Regions from separate parts of the Homo sapiens genome. Here region 2 is linked to region 1. Evidence: promoter capture Hi-C in 16 types of primary human blood cells and fetal thymus (Javierre and others, 2016). All regions are on one chromosome and are shown on one strand. The core of a region is centred on a gene start or on the middle of the fragment in contact, and the rest is flanking DNA. Distances in the headings are between cores, read along the strand shown. Region 1 holds the start of LRRC52-AS1 (LRRC52 antisense RNA 1). Region 2 overlaps RXRG (retinoid X receptor gamma).

Region 1 (5,507 bases), core at 872-3,371:
AAGGAATGCATACTCTTGTTGGAGAGACAGGGAACACACACACAGAAAGAGAGAATGAATAGTAGTTTGAGTGATTTCCTCAAGTCATTGGAACCAACTGACAGAAGCCTTGATTATTTTGGCTTTTCCCAATCCTGCAATCTGAGAATAAGCAAAACACCAAGAAAGAAATAAAGGCAAAAAGAAGGAAGGGAGAAAGAGAGGAAAGGAGGAAGGGAAGGAGGGAGAGAATGGAAGGCAGGAGAGAAGAAAGGGAGGGAGGGAGGGAGAGACAACCAAATTCATATAAGAAATTCATTAAGAGCGATGTTAAGTGTGAACCATGTACCATCTGCATCAGAGTCACCCTAGGTGCGTCATAACAAGACAGACCCTCTGAAGCAGGGTTTGGGAATCTGAACTGTGAGCAGTCCCTCAGAGGATGCTTAGGCACTCTGAAGTCAGAGGCCCACTAGTCTGGACACTGCCTAAGGCCAGTCCATGTGCTCAGACCTCTGCATCTGCTGCTACATCTCCAGCTACCAAACTACCTAATAATCTCACATACAGAAGACTGGTCCTAAGGTGAGACAAAGTCCCAAGTCATCAGATAAAGAGGAACTTATGTTCACAATTTGTCGTGGGCTTTGGAGTGAGGCAGACTCCAATGGAAAGCCCAGTTCTCCTTCTTCCTAGCAGAGACTTTAGGGAAATTACTTAAACCCACTGAACGTCAGGGTCCTCATCTGTAAAATCCTCATAGGATGGTTGGGAGGGTGATCAGGTAGGAACCATGGCTTTCTCTAAGCTGCCTTTTATTTGCTGACTTTTGAGAGGGGACGTCTTACTCAGGCACAGTCACATGTGCCTGTAGCCCTAGCTACTTTGGAGGCCAAGGCAGGAGGATAGTTTGAGTCCAGGAGTTCAAGACTGCAGTGTGCTGTAACTGTGCCTATGAATAGCCACTGCTTAGGCAACACAGTGAAACCCCATCTCTAAAAGAAAAAAAAAAAAAGACCAGACATCTTAGAAAGATTCTTCAAATCCTAACCCTAGTTAGACATTAGACATTGAATGCCTCTCCTAGACTTGACTAATGGAGAAAAAATGCCTTTAAGTGTTTCATCTGTTTCATCTTACTCATTCCTCAGAACATTCTGCTGACATCAACAGCCTCCAGGCCTTTGCACATGCATGTCTTTCTTTATGAAATACACACACACATGCACACATGTCTCTACACCCTGCTTATTCTATAAATCCATATTCATCCTTCAACTTCTTGCTCAAGTATCACTTCTATTTTAAAATTTCCCAGACACCACAGCCTGCCCCAACTCACCCATTCTCACTGCAGTGACGGCTCCCAGAACCTGAACAAACCACAAGTCTGATCTTGCCGCACTGTGATGACTGATCTTCTGGTTTCTCCCCAACAACCATGGGTTCCCCAAAAAGCAATACTTTGTAACCCTAGCACTTGCTATCATGCCTAATGTCTAGCAAGTACGCACAATTTGTTGCGTTAATATATTCCACATGTAGCTTCTTCTCCGAGAAAACACCAAATGGCGGATGACGCCGGCGCAGCCGGCATTGGGTTGCGGGGGGAGTCCCGGAGGCCCCGGGGCCCTGGGATGGGGAACCATGGTGGCTTCCGTGGAGGTTTCGGCAGTGGCATCCGAGGCCGGGGTCACTGCCGTGGACCAGGCTGGGGCCGAAGCCACGGAGCTCGCGGAGGCAAGGCCAAGGATAAGGAGTGGATGCCCGTCAGCAAGCTGGGCTGCCTGGTCAAGCACATGAAGATCACTTCCCTGGAGGAGATCTGTCTCTTCTCCCTGCCCATCACGGAATCTGAGATCATTGATTTTTTCCTGGGGGGCCTCTCTCGAGGCCTAGGTTTTGAAGATTATGCCGGTGCAGAAGCAGACCGGAGCCGGCCAGCGAACCAGGTTCAAGGCGTTTGTGGCCATTGCGGGCTACAACGGTCACGTCGGTCTGGGTGTTAAGTGCTCCAAGGAGGTGGCCACTGCCATCCACAGGGCCATCATCCTGGCCTAGCTCTCCATTGTCCCCATGCGCAGAGGTTACTAGGGGAACAAGATCGGCAAGCCCTACACCATCCGTTGCAAGGTGACGGGCTGCTGCGGCTCCGTGCTCGTGCGCCTCATCCGCGTGCCCAGAGGCACCGGTATCGTCTCGGCGCCTGTGCCCAAGAAGTTGCTCATGATGGCTGGTATCGATGACTGCTACACCTCAGCCAGGGGCTGCACTGCCACTCTGAGCAACTTCGCCAAGGCCACCTTTGATGCCATCTCTAAGACCTACAGCTACCTGACCCCTGACCTCTGGAGGACGGCTGTATTCACCAAGTGTCCCTATCAAGAATTCACTGACCACCTCGCCAAGACCCACACCAGAGTCTCCGTGCAGAGGACCCAGGCTCCAGCTGTAGCTACAACATAGGGTTTTTATACAAGAAAAAGAAAGTTAATTAAGCCTGTAAAATATACATACATATATGTGTGTGTATATATACATATTATATATGTATATATGTGTGTGTATATACATTATATATATGTATATATGTGTGTATATATACATATATACGTATATATGTGTGTATATATACATATATACGTATATATGTGTGTATATATACATATATACGTATATGTGTCTATATACATATATACGTATATGTGTGTGTATACATATATACGTATGTATGTGTGTATACATATATACGTATGTGTGTGTATACATATATACGTATGTATGTGTGTATACATCTATACGTATGTATGTGTGTGTATACATCTATACGTATGTATGTGTGTATACATATATACGTGTATACGTATACACATATGTATATGTGTATACATATACACATATATGTGTATGTATGTGTATACATATACACATATATGTGTATGTATGTGTATACATATACACATATATGTGTATGTATGTGTATACATATACACATATATGTGTATGTATGTGTATACATATACACATATATGTGTATGTATGTGTATACATATACACATATATGTGTATGTATGTGTATACATATACACATATATGTGTATGTATGTGTATACATATACACATATATGTGTATGTATGTGTATATGTATGTATATATACACATATACATACATGCATGTATATATGTATGTATATGTATACATATATACATACATTGTATATACGTATACATATACACACATATATGTATATACGTATACATATACACACATATATGTATATACGTATACATATACACACATACATACATATATACACATACATACATATATACACATACATACATACATATATGTATATGTGTATATATACATATATGTGTATATATTCCAACTGTAAAATATACATATATGTGTGTATATATATATTCCACCTGTAATATATATATACATTCCACCTGTAAAATATAAAATTATGACACTGATTTTTAAAGTGTTATATAACTTACTCATACTGTTGTTTTCAAAAGCCAGCTTAAGCCAGAGGGGGAAAAAAAATAATCACACTAGTTTGGTCTTCTCTTTTAATCTGAATCAGAATTACTTGGCTTTATCCCCTACCTAATTCATTAGATGTGGCTCTGAATTGTAGAATCCACCTCATAAGCGGAAGATTTGCCGCCATGAAGAATATTAAGAAGACTCCCTCTGACTTCAGAGGCAATTCAAGTCAGTGCAATGAACACTAAGCTAAGTACTGAAATTCTACAAAAAGGATCCTTCCAAAAACACAGCCTCTCTGATGGAACCAGAGCTCTCCTCCAAAGGTGCTAACTTCTTGTTAGGCTGGCAGGCTCTTCCCCAGACCGTCTCTTGGTGTGTGTGTTTTTACCATAATTCTAACACAAAGAGTAAGAGTCCCATTTCTACCCGTGGGTGCTACCCAAGCTTACCTCGCTGCCCCAAGCCCAAAGTGTCTCCTTTATGGATCACTGCCCATGCCCTTCCCCGTGCCTGAGTTTAGCTTTACATTCAAGCCATTGATGGTAATTTCTCAAAATTCTACTCAATTAATAGCTACCATTTACTGAGTGACTCTGTGCCAGATACCCTATTAGAGGTTTTATAGACACTCTAGAAACTTATATCTCAAACAACTTATGACCAAGTGTTATAAGTATCCTCATACACAAGTAACTGAGTAAGTGATGGAACCAGGTGTGACTCCAAAGCTCATGTTAACTGTGGAGGTATACATCTTCCACTAGCTCATTAAATATTCACTTAGTACTCTATGGACGTAGTGTTATTATCTTATTTTACAGATGAGGAAACCAAAGTATAGCAAGGTCATTAGACTTCTCATACTAGTTCCAAATTATTTGAGCCCCTCCAGTTACTCATAGCTCTTTAGGCACATATTTGCCAGCTCTGTGCTGGCAAATATCTTGCCAACATAGACAAAATTGCAGCCAACCAGGAAGAGGCCAGTCTGAGAAGTGAAGACAGTTGGACCCTCAAGACACAATCAAGCCTTACTAATATATCTATGATCTTCTCAGTCACATGAGGAATTAAATTGCCACTTTTACTTTAGTTTGACTTGGCTATAGTCTGAGTGTTTATGTTGAAATCCTAATCTTCAAGGTTATGGTATTAGGAGGTAGGACCTTTGGAGAGGTGATTAGGTCATGGCATAGAGCCCTCATTAATAGGATTAGTGCCCTTATAAAAGAGGCCTGATCTGCCATGTGAAGACACAACAAATAGGTGCCATCTATGAACCATAAAACAAGCCCTTACCGGACACCAATCTGCCTTCACCTTGATCTTGGATTTCCCAGCTTCCATTAATAGGGAGAAATAAATTTCTGTTGGTTATAAGCCACCTGGTCTATGGTATTTTGTTATAGCAGCTTAGATTAAAATAACTTCACTTTTTAACTGTTGCTTACAACCCAAAGAGTCCTATTTAAGACAAAAATGAACACCTGCAAGGTGAAACAATAAAATAATGTGGATGACTCTTTTAAAACTCACATACCAAGGTGTATTCATCCAAATGACAGCAGTTCCTTTCGAAGTAGTTATCTTAAGGAAAATGAAGTTGCAAGTAAGTAGGCAACCAGAGGAAATGCTATGAAAAAATGCCCCCAAATGATGGTATTGATCAAGCACTGGCCAGTATTTTGGAATGAATAATGTACATGATTTTGCAAGCCTAGTTACTTCATGTTGTCATAGGGAGTAGCTCAAGGGACAGGAAGAAAAGTACTTGCTTCCACTCATGTTAAAACTATAGGCTCTTGATCTGTCAGTCTGTTCTGAACATTGGTATAAAATTAATGAATAATCAGCTTCCTATCCCTGAAGTAATAGCCTGAAGCTTGCAGATAAAGTACCAAATCTCAACAAAATCAAACCTAAAGTCCCCAGATGTTCAGATAAGTCATATGCCAGGGTCTACCTTTGGCCCCAGATTCTCCTGTTCCCAGCCTTGACTCAGCTGAGACTCAGTGGCTTCTCTCC
Region 2 (5,507 bases), core at 955-3,454, 140 kb before region 1:
AATGAAATAGACGGTGGCCTCCAGGAGGGGCCCCTCTATCTGTTGTGCTGAGATTGACTCAGCCCTGGCTCAGCGATCCTCAGAAAAAAAGTGAAAATACAGGTTGAGTATCCCTAATCCAAGCCTCTAAAATCTGAAATGCTTCAAAATCCAGAACTTTTTGAATGCCAATATCATGCTCAAAGGAAATGCTAATTGGAGCATTTTGGATTTCAGATTTTTGGATTATAGATGCTCAATTGGTAAGTATAAGGCAAATATTCCAAAATAAAAAAAAAATCCCAAATCCAAAACACTTCTGGTGTTAAGCATTTTGGATAAGGGATACTTAACTTGCATCAACTCATTTCATAACTACAACACCACTTTAAGGTCCGTAGTTTTATTATCCCCATTATATGGGGATTAAGCACACGGCTTGGCACAGAATAGACACTCACCAAATATTTTTTGACAGATAACCCAATGATTGGTATGGAAATAAATAGCACATATTCATAAAGAGTTTTAGGAATGTAAGGCATTATCTAGCAGACGGAATAAACTTGGACCCAGGGGCCAGAAGACCTGCTGTTTTTGCCTATATGGCCTTGGGCAAGTCTCTCAACCTCTCTTCTATAAAATGAGGTGGTTCTTCAAGTTCTAAAAGTCTGATTTCTAAACAAAAACAACCAACATGGTCTTATTAATTTACAACATAATTAATTCAGAGTGGTGACTAAACTGGTCATGGTATAAACTAGTTTGTATTTGTTCATTCACAAAATAATAATAAAAAAGGTTTGTTAAGCAAATAAGATGGTAGAAATGTTAAGCCTATTTAAGATACATATGTTTTCAAGCAATTTAAAAAGCATAGAAGGAGCACATTGGCATATTAACGGGGTGTTAATTACAAAAGAATCTTTTAAAGCAGGTTTTCTAAAATCCCCACTGAGTAACCATTAGCTTGTGGTACTTGAAACACAAACTGTTCACATGTGTTACTTAGAAGTAATAAAATTGTAATTTAAAAGTAATCTGCCAACTTGTCACGAATTTAGACTGATTTTTCTCTCAATTGATCCAAATGAGTGAGGTTTTGCTATAATTATATATAATGCTGGTAATAATGAGGCTGATTATCAATCTTTCCCTGCTTTTCACTACCTCCATCATTACAGATTTTAGGGGAGGGGGGCGGGGGTGGAGGAAGATGGGAGGAGTGGGAGCGAGGGGAGGAGGGGGGTGGAGGAGAGGGAGAGAGGCAGGGATGCCACTCTCTCCCTCCCCCTTCCTTCAAGCACCGGAAGCAACCCCAGCTCCCACCCTGAGCAGCTCATCAGCCCTTCTCTGGGGGCTACATGAATCCAGGTGGAACTGCCCTGTGCGGCTTCGAAAGGCTAGCCAGCTGGTCCGAACTGGGGTTGCGTGAAGCATGCAGCAGCGTCAACCCATCAGCTAATGCATGCTTTCATTCTCACATTCCCACTGAGAGGCTGAGAGGCCTGAGCCTCTGGGGGCAGAAGGAGGGCCTCTTCTACATGCTCTCCACTCTCCAACACATTCCTTGATTTTTCCCCACTGAGGAAGCCAGAAAGGGCTTCCATAGCAGAGAAGGTTTCCTTCCCATCAGAAGAAAGCTTCTCTCTGCTCCCCATTCACTGGAAATTTAATGTCTAACATCTTGTTTTCTACATCGGTTAAAATGTAAAGCTTTGCACCAGTAAAACAGTTATAAAATACCTTCCCATTCCATCTCAGGGTGATTGTGCAGCCTAAATGTTTATAGGAAAGTCCCCTTGAATATGCTGATAATAATTCAAATATAAGAAATGCATATTAGCTAATCCCTGGTGTCTGAGTGGCTGTTATGTGGAAAGAGGAGGGAGAAGAAGATTAGGCTGGGCTGGGAGCCCTGAGGAAGGGAACCCAAACTAGGGGTTGAATTGTGAAGAGATAGAGTCAAGATGTGGAGTGTTCTAGTGAGAAAGGCCAGGGTCAAAATCCTGGGAGAGGCCAAGTATTGAATTGGGAAGGGGCAGGAAGGTCTGTGCTGGGTAACTGCTGTAAGAATTTACAGAGTAGTACAGTATAGTACATGGTAGAGCTGGGATTAAAATCCAGATCTGCTGCTTTTCCTCATATTCAAATGCCACTTTTATCATTTATTAGCCAAGTTCCCTTTGGCAAATTATTAATTTCTCTGTCCCCCAGTTTTTACATCTGTATAATGGGGGTAATAAAACTACCGACCTTAAAGTGGTGTTTTAGTTATGAAACGAGTTGATACAGGTTAAGTATCTCTTATCCAAAATGCTTAGCACCAGAAGTGTTTTGGATTTAGGATTTTTTTTTATTTTGGAATATTTGCATTATACTTACCAATTGAGCATCTATAATCCAGAAATCTGAAATCCAAAATGCTCCAACGAGCATTTCCTTTGAGCATCATTTTGGCATTCAAAAAGTTCTGGATTTTGAAGCATTTCAGATTTTAGATGCTTGGATTAGGGATACTCAACCTGTATTTTCACTTTTTTCTGAGGATCACTGAGCCAGGGCTGAGTCAATCTCATGAGAGCCACCAAAGCCCATGCATTCTAGAAAATTAACTTCATTCCCTGGGCCTCTGTGTCTTCTACTTTTAAAAAGAGGAGAAAACACCAGCTTCCTCTGGGAGCCCCTGGCACACCCGCGATCCAATGCTGGTGGCTAAGTTCTCTGCAGACCTAGAAGCTTCATAATGAGGGGAAGGAAGAGGTGGGGCATTTAGATTCTCTTTGCACAATTTCTTCCCCCAGTTGCTATTCAGCTCTCTATCTCTTGGTGAGATTGTAAATGTTTTAGAAAATAGTTTATACGAAATATGTTCCTTCCTAAATCTCATAAACAGTTACTCCTTTCCACATAAACCTTAACCACTTATGCCCATGATAGGTTCCAATTAGCCACCCACATATCTGTGGAGGGGAAAAATATGTTCTAGCATATACACACATGTGCACACGCACACATACAAGCAGGTCCAACTCAACCCCTTCTCTATGGCTATTTTCAAGTGAAAGCAACTATTCTACATGAATGGTCAGGGTCAGTTGGACAGGACTCTTGCAAATAAGTATGTACCCAAGGGAAGCCACCAATTAATTCTGCAGAGATCACCGTTGCTCTTAACCTATCCCATGGCTTATTCCTCAATGGCCAGTCCACTGGGTCTGCAACAACCAGTCAGTGCTGAGGCTGCATATCTGAGGTTGTATTGGAGCACCGGGAGCTCCCTGGGGGTGTGCTGCTGCCCCTGGCTTTGCAGAGCAACTGTGTCACTCACAGAAGCTGTGAGAGGCAGCTCAGCAGTGTGAACTCTGGGAGCTAGTCTGCCTGGGTTCAATCCCTGGCTGTGCCATTTTCTAGCTATAAGACCTTAAGCAAGTTATTTCACCTCTCAATTCCTCTGTTTCTTTGTCTCTAAAAGGAGTACGAGAACAATGGTAACAGTACCTACTCCTAGGGTTGTTATGAGGATTACATGAGCCGAGGCTGGTAAAGTGCTTACAATAGTAGCGAGCATTAGTGTTACAGTGTGTTTGTTAAATGAAATGAGAGAAGTCCTCTCTCTCCCTGATCTCCTTCTCACCCTGAGGATTACTGCACAATTGGATGGGGGGGATTACAGGCTTTGTTTTGCCATCTTCTAAGAGGCAGCAACTGTCTCATCCCAGAAAAACAAACCTATTACTGAGCAGCTGGCAAACCCTGGACTTGGCAGAGAAGGAGAAGAGAAGGTTTCTCTCATCATTACATGGTAGGGCCCAAAGCTGGGAGATTGGGCACCTTTGTGGAGCCACCACGTAGCCACCACACTTTGGCCAGTTTGAGCAATCTGTTGCTCACTGATCAGATGATGCTCTGACATCTGGTAAGCATGGTCCCAGACACAAATCTCAGGTGTTATTTCCAAAAGGTGACTTTGCTTCCCTGGAGATTCTTATACAAATCATGGGGCCCTCTGTAATTCCATGTGCTAATATGTAACAGGGCAGGGGGTTATACACCAAGTATTTTAATAAGTGCCGTGCAACTTGCTGCACTGTGGCAGGGGAGGTTAGAGGCCAAAGGTGACGTCCACTCTAATCCTGCTTTCCCCTGTGCCTGCTTGTGAGTCCTCTGTCCCTCTCCCTCATCACAGAAAGTTCTCAAACAGACCTCCCTGCAGACGGGGGCAGAGTCCTTTGGCTCAGCATTTAGGCCTCCTCTTAACTGGCACATGCCAACAAAATGGAAAACCTCAACAGAACTAAACAAAATAATTCTTCTCCTCCCTCAAGAATGACAAAGAAAAGTAGCTTTACAGGAGACATGTAGACAACCTACATGACCCTTTCCCCTCAAGTTCCCTATACTATACTGAACTATTTCCTTCCATAGCTGAACCATTGTGTTTACTTCTATCTGAAATCTAATTACGCTAAATATCAGAGCCCCCACAATTATGAAAATCTATGCCAGCAAAATATGAGGGTCTTTGTGGATTTAATTTTATTTTCCCAGATTCCTTATTTATTATTTTACAATAATGTCTGATTTTTAACTATTTTGCATGTTAGTCTCTGAGTAAAATAGAGGGGAAGAAAATATTGTATTAGGTAGCAAATATATGGACAACACTATAGCAGCTGTTTTTCACATGCTAACTCATTTAATTTTCACAATACTCTAAGGATGAGATTATAAATCCCATTTTAGAGAGAAAGGTGCTAAGGCTCAGAGAGGTTCACTAGCTTGCCTAAGGTCACACAGCTACTAGGTGAAAAATTGGGAACCAAACTCAGCACACTACCTCTTCCTGCCTCCTCTTCCTCCTGGTGCTCTTTTCACTATATTAAAGCAACAATATTATAAATTTGAGTAAGGGCTTTTCTGGAAGTGTTCTGCAGCTCAGCCCCATATAAATTTGGACTAGTCCCTGCCTTCTTTTGAGCCTCAGTTTACACATCTATAAGATGAGAGCCTAAGATGCTGTTTCAGGTCCTTAGGATGCTAACATTCCAAGATTCCAGCCCCCATGGAATTTTAACTAGATCTTCTTTCTCTGGCTCTTACTTTAGTTCTCTCCCTAAATCCTTCTAGCTTCAACCCTTTTATTCACCCCAACTGTCTCCAAGGGTCTCTTTGGCATTAATGAAGCCACAGTCTCACAGACCTTGGGGGGCCCACGAATCTGGCTGAAAATGAGCATGCACCTCTTACAAATGAACTAAGATGTAAAGGAAAAAGCAATTCTCAGCTCTGAATGGGACTGAGGTGGGAATTGAGGAGGCTTTTCACATCTGGAGCCCAACCATAGACTAGAGATCAAATGCCCAGGTCACAGCATTGGCCACCGCTCTCACTCTGTCATCAGACTGGCCCAAAGAACTTGAACATCACCTCGGGAACATTTCCATGGCCCTCACCCCAAGTCCAAGTACAACCTACGTTTGCTATTACACACATCATGCAGTATTATAATGTGCCTGTGTAACAAG

Evidence for each region. The method cuts DNA at HindIII sites, captures the fragments that hold promoters and counts their contacts. A CHiCAGO score of 5 or more calls a contact.
Region 2: a fragment that was not itself captured here is called in contact with the fragment with the promoter of LRRC52-AS1 in region 1 in 3 of 17 cell types (total CD8 T cells, total CD4 T cells and non-activated CD4 T cells); the score reaches 7.6 in total CD8 T cells.

Annotation. Positions count from the first base shown.
Region 1 is chr1:165,580,034-165,585,540 of GRCh38, forward strand. LRRC52-AS1 (LRRC52 antisense RNA 1) reads right to left here and starts at 2,122. Exons shown (of 7, transcript NR_026744.2): 1 at 1,322-2,122. It also overlaps the pseudogene RPS2P10. The HindIII fragment of the contact is 5,029 bases long and covers 1-3,924 here.
Region 2 is chr1:165,438,087-165,443,593 of GRCh38, forward strand. The region is part of intron 1 of RXRG (retinoid X receptor gamma); the gene reads right to left. Among named protein-coding and RNA genes, the nearest start is that of RXRG, 4.3 kb to the right of the region's middle. The HindIII fragment of the contact is 1,023 bases long and covers 1,694-2,716 here.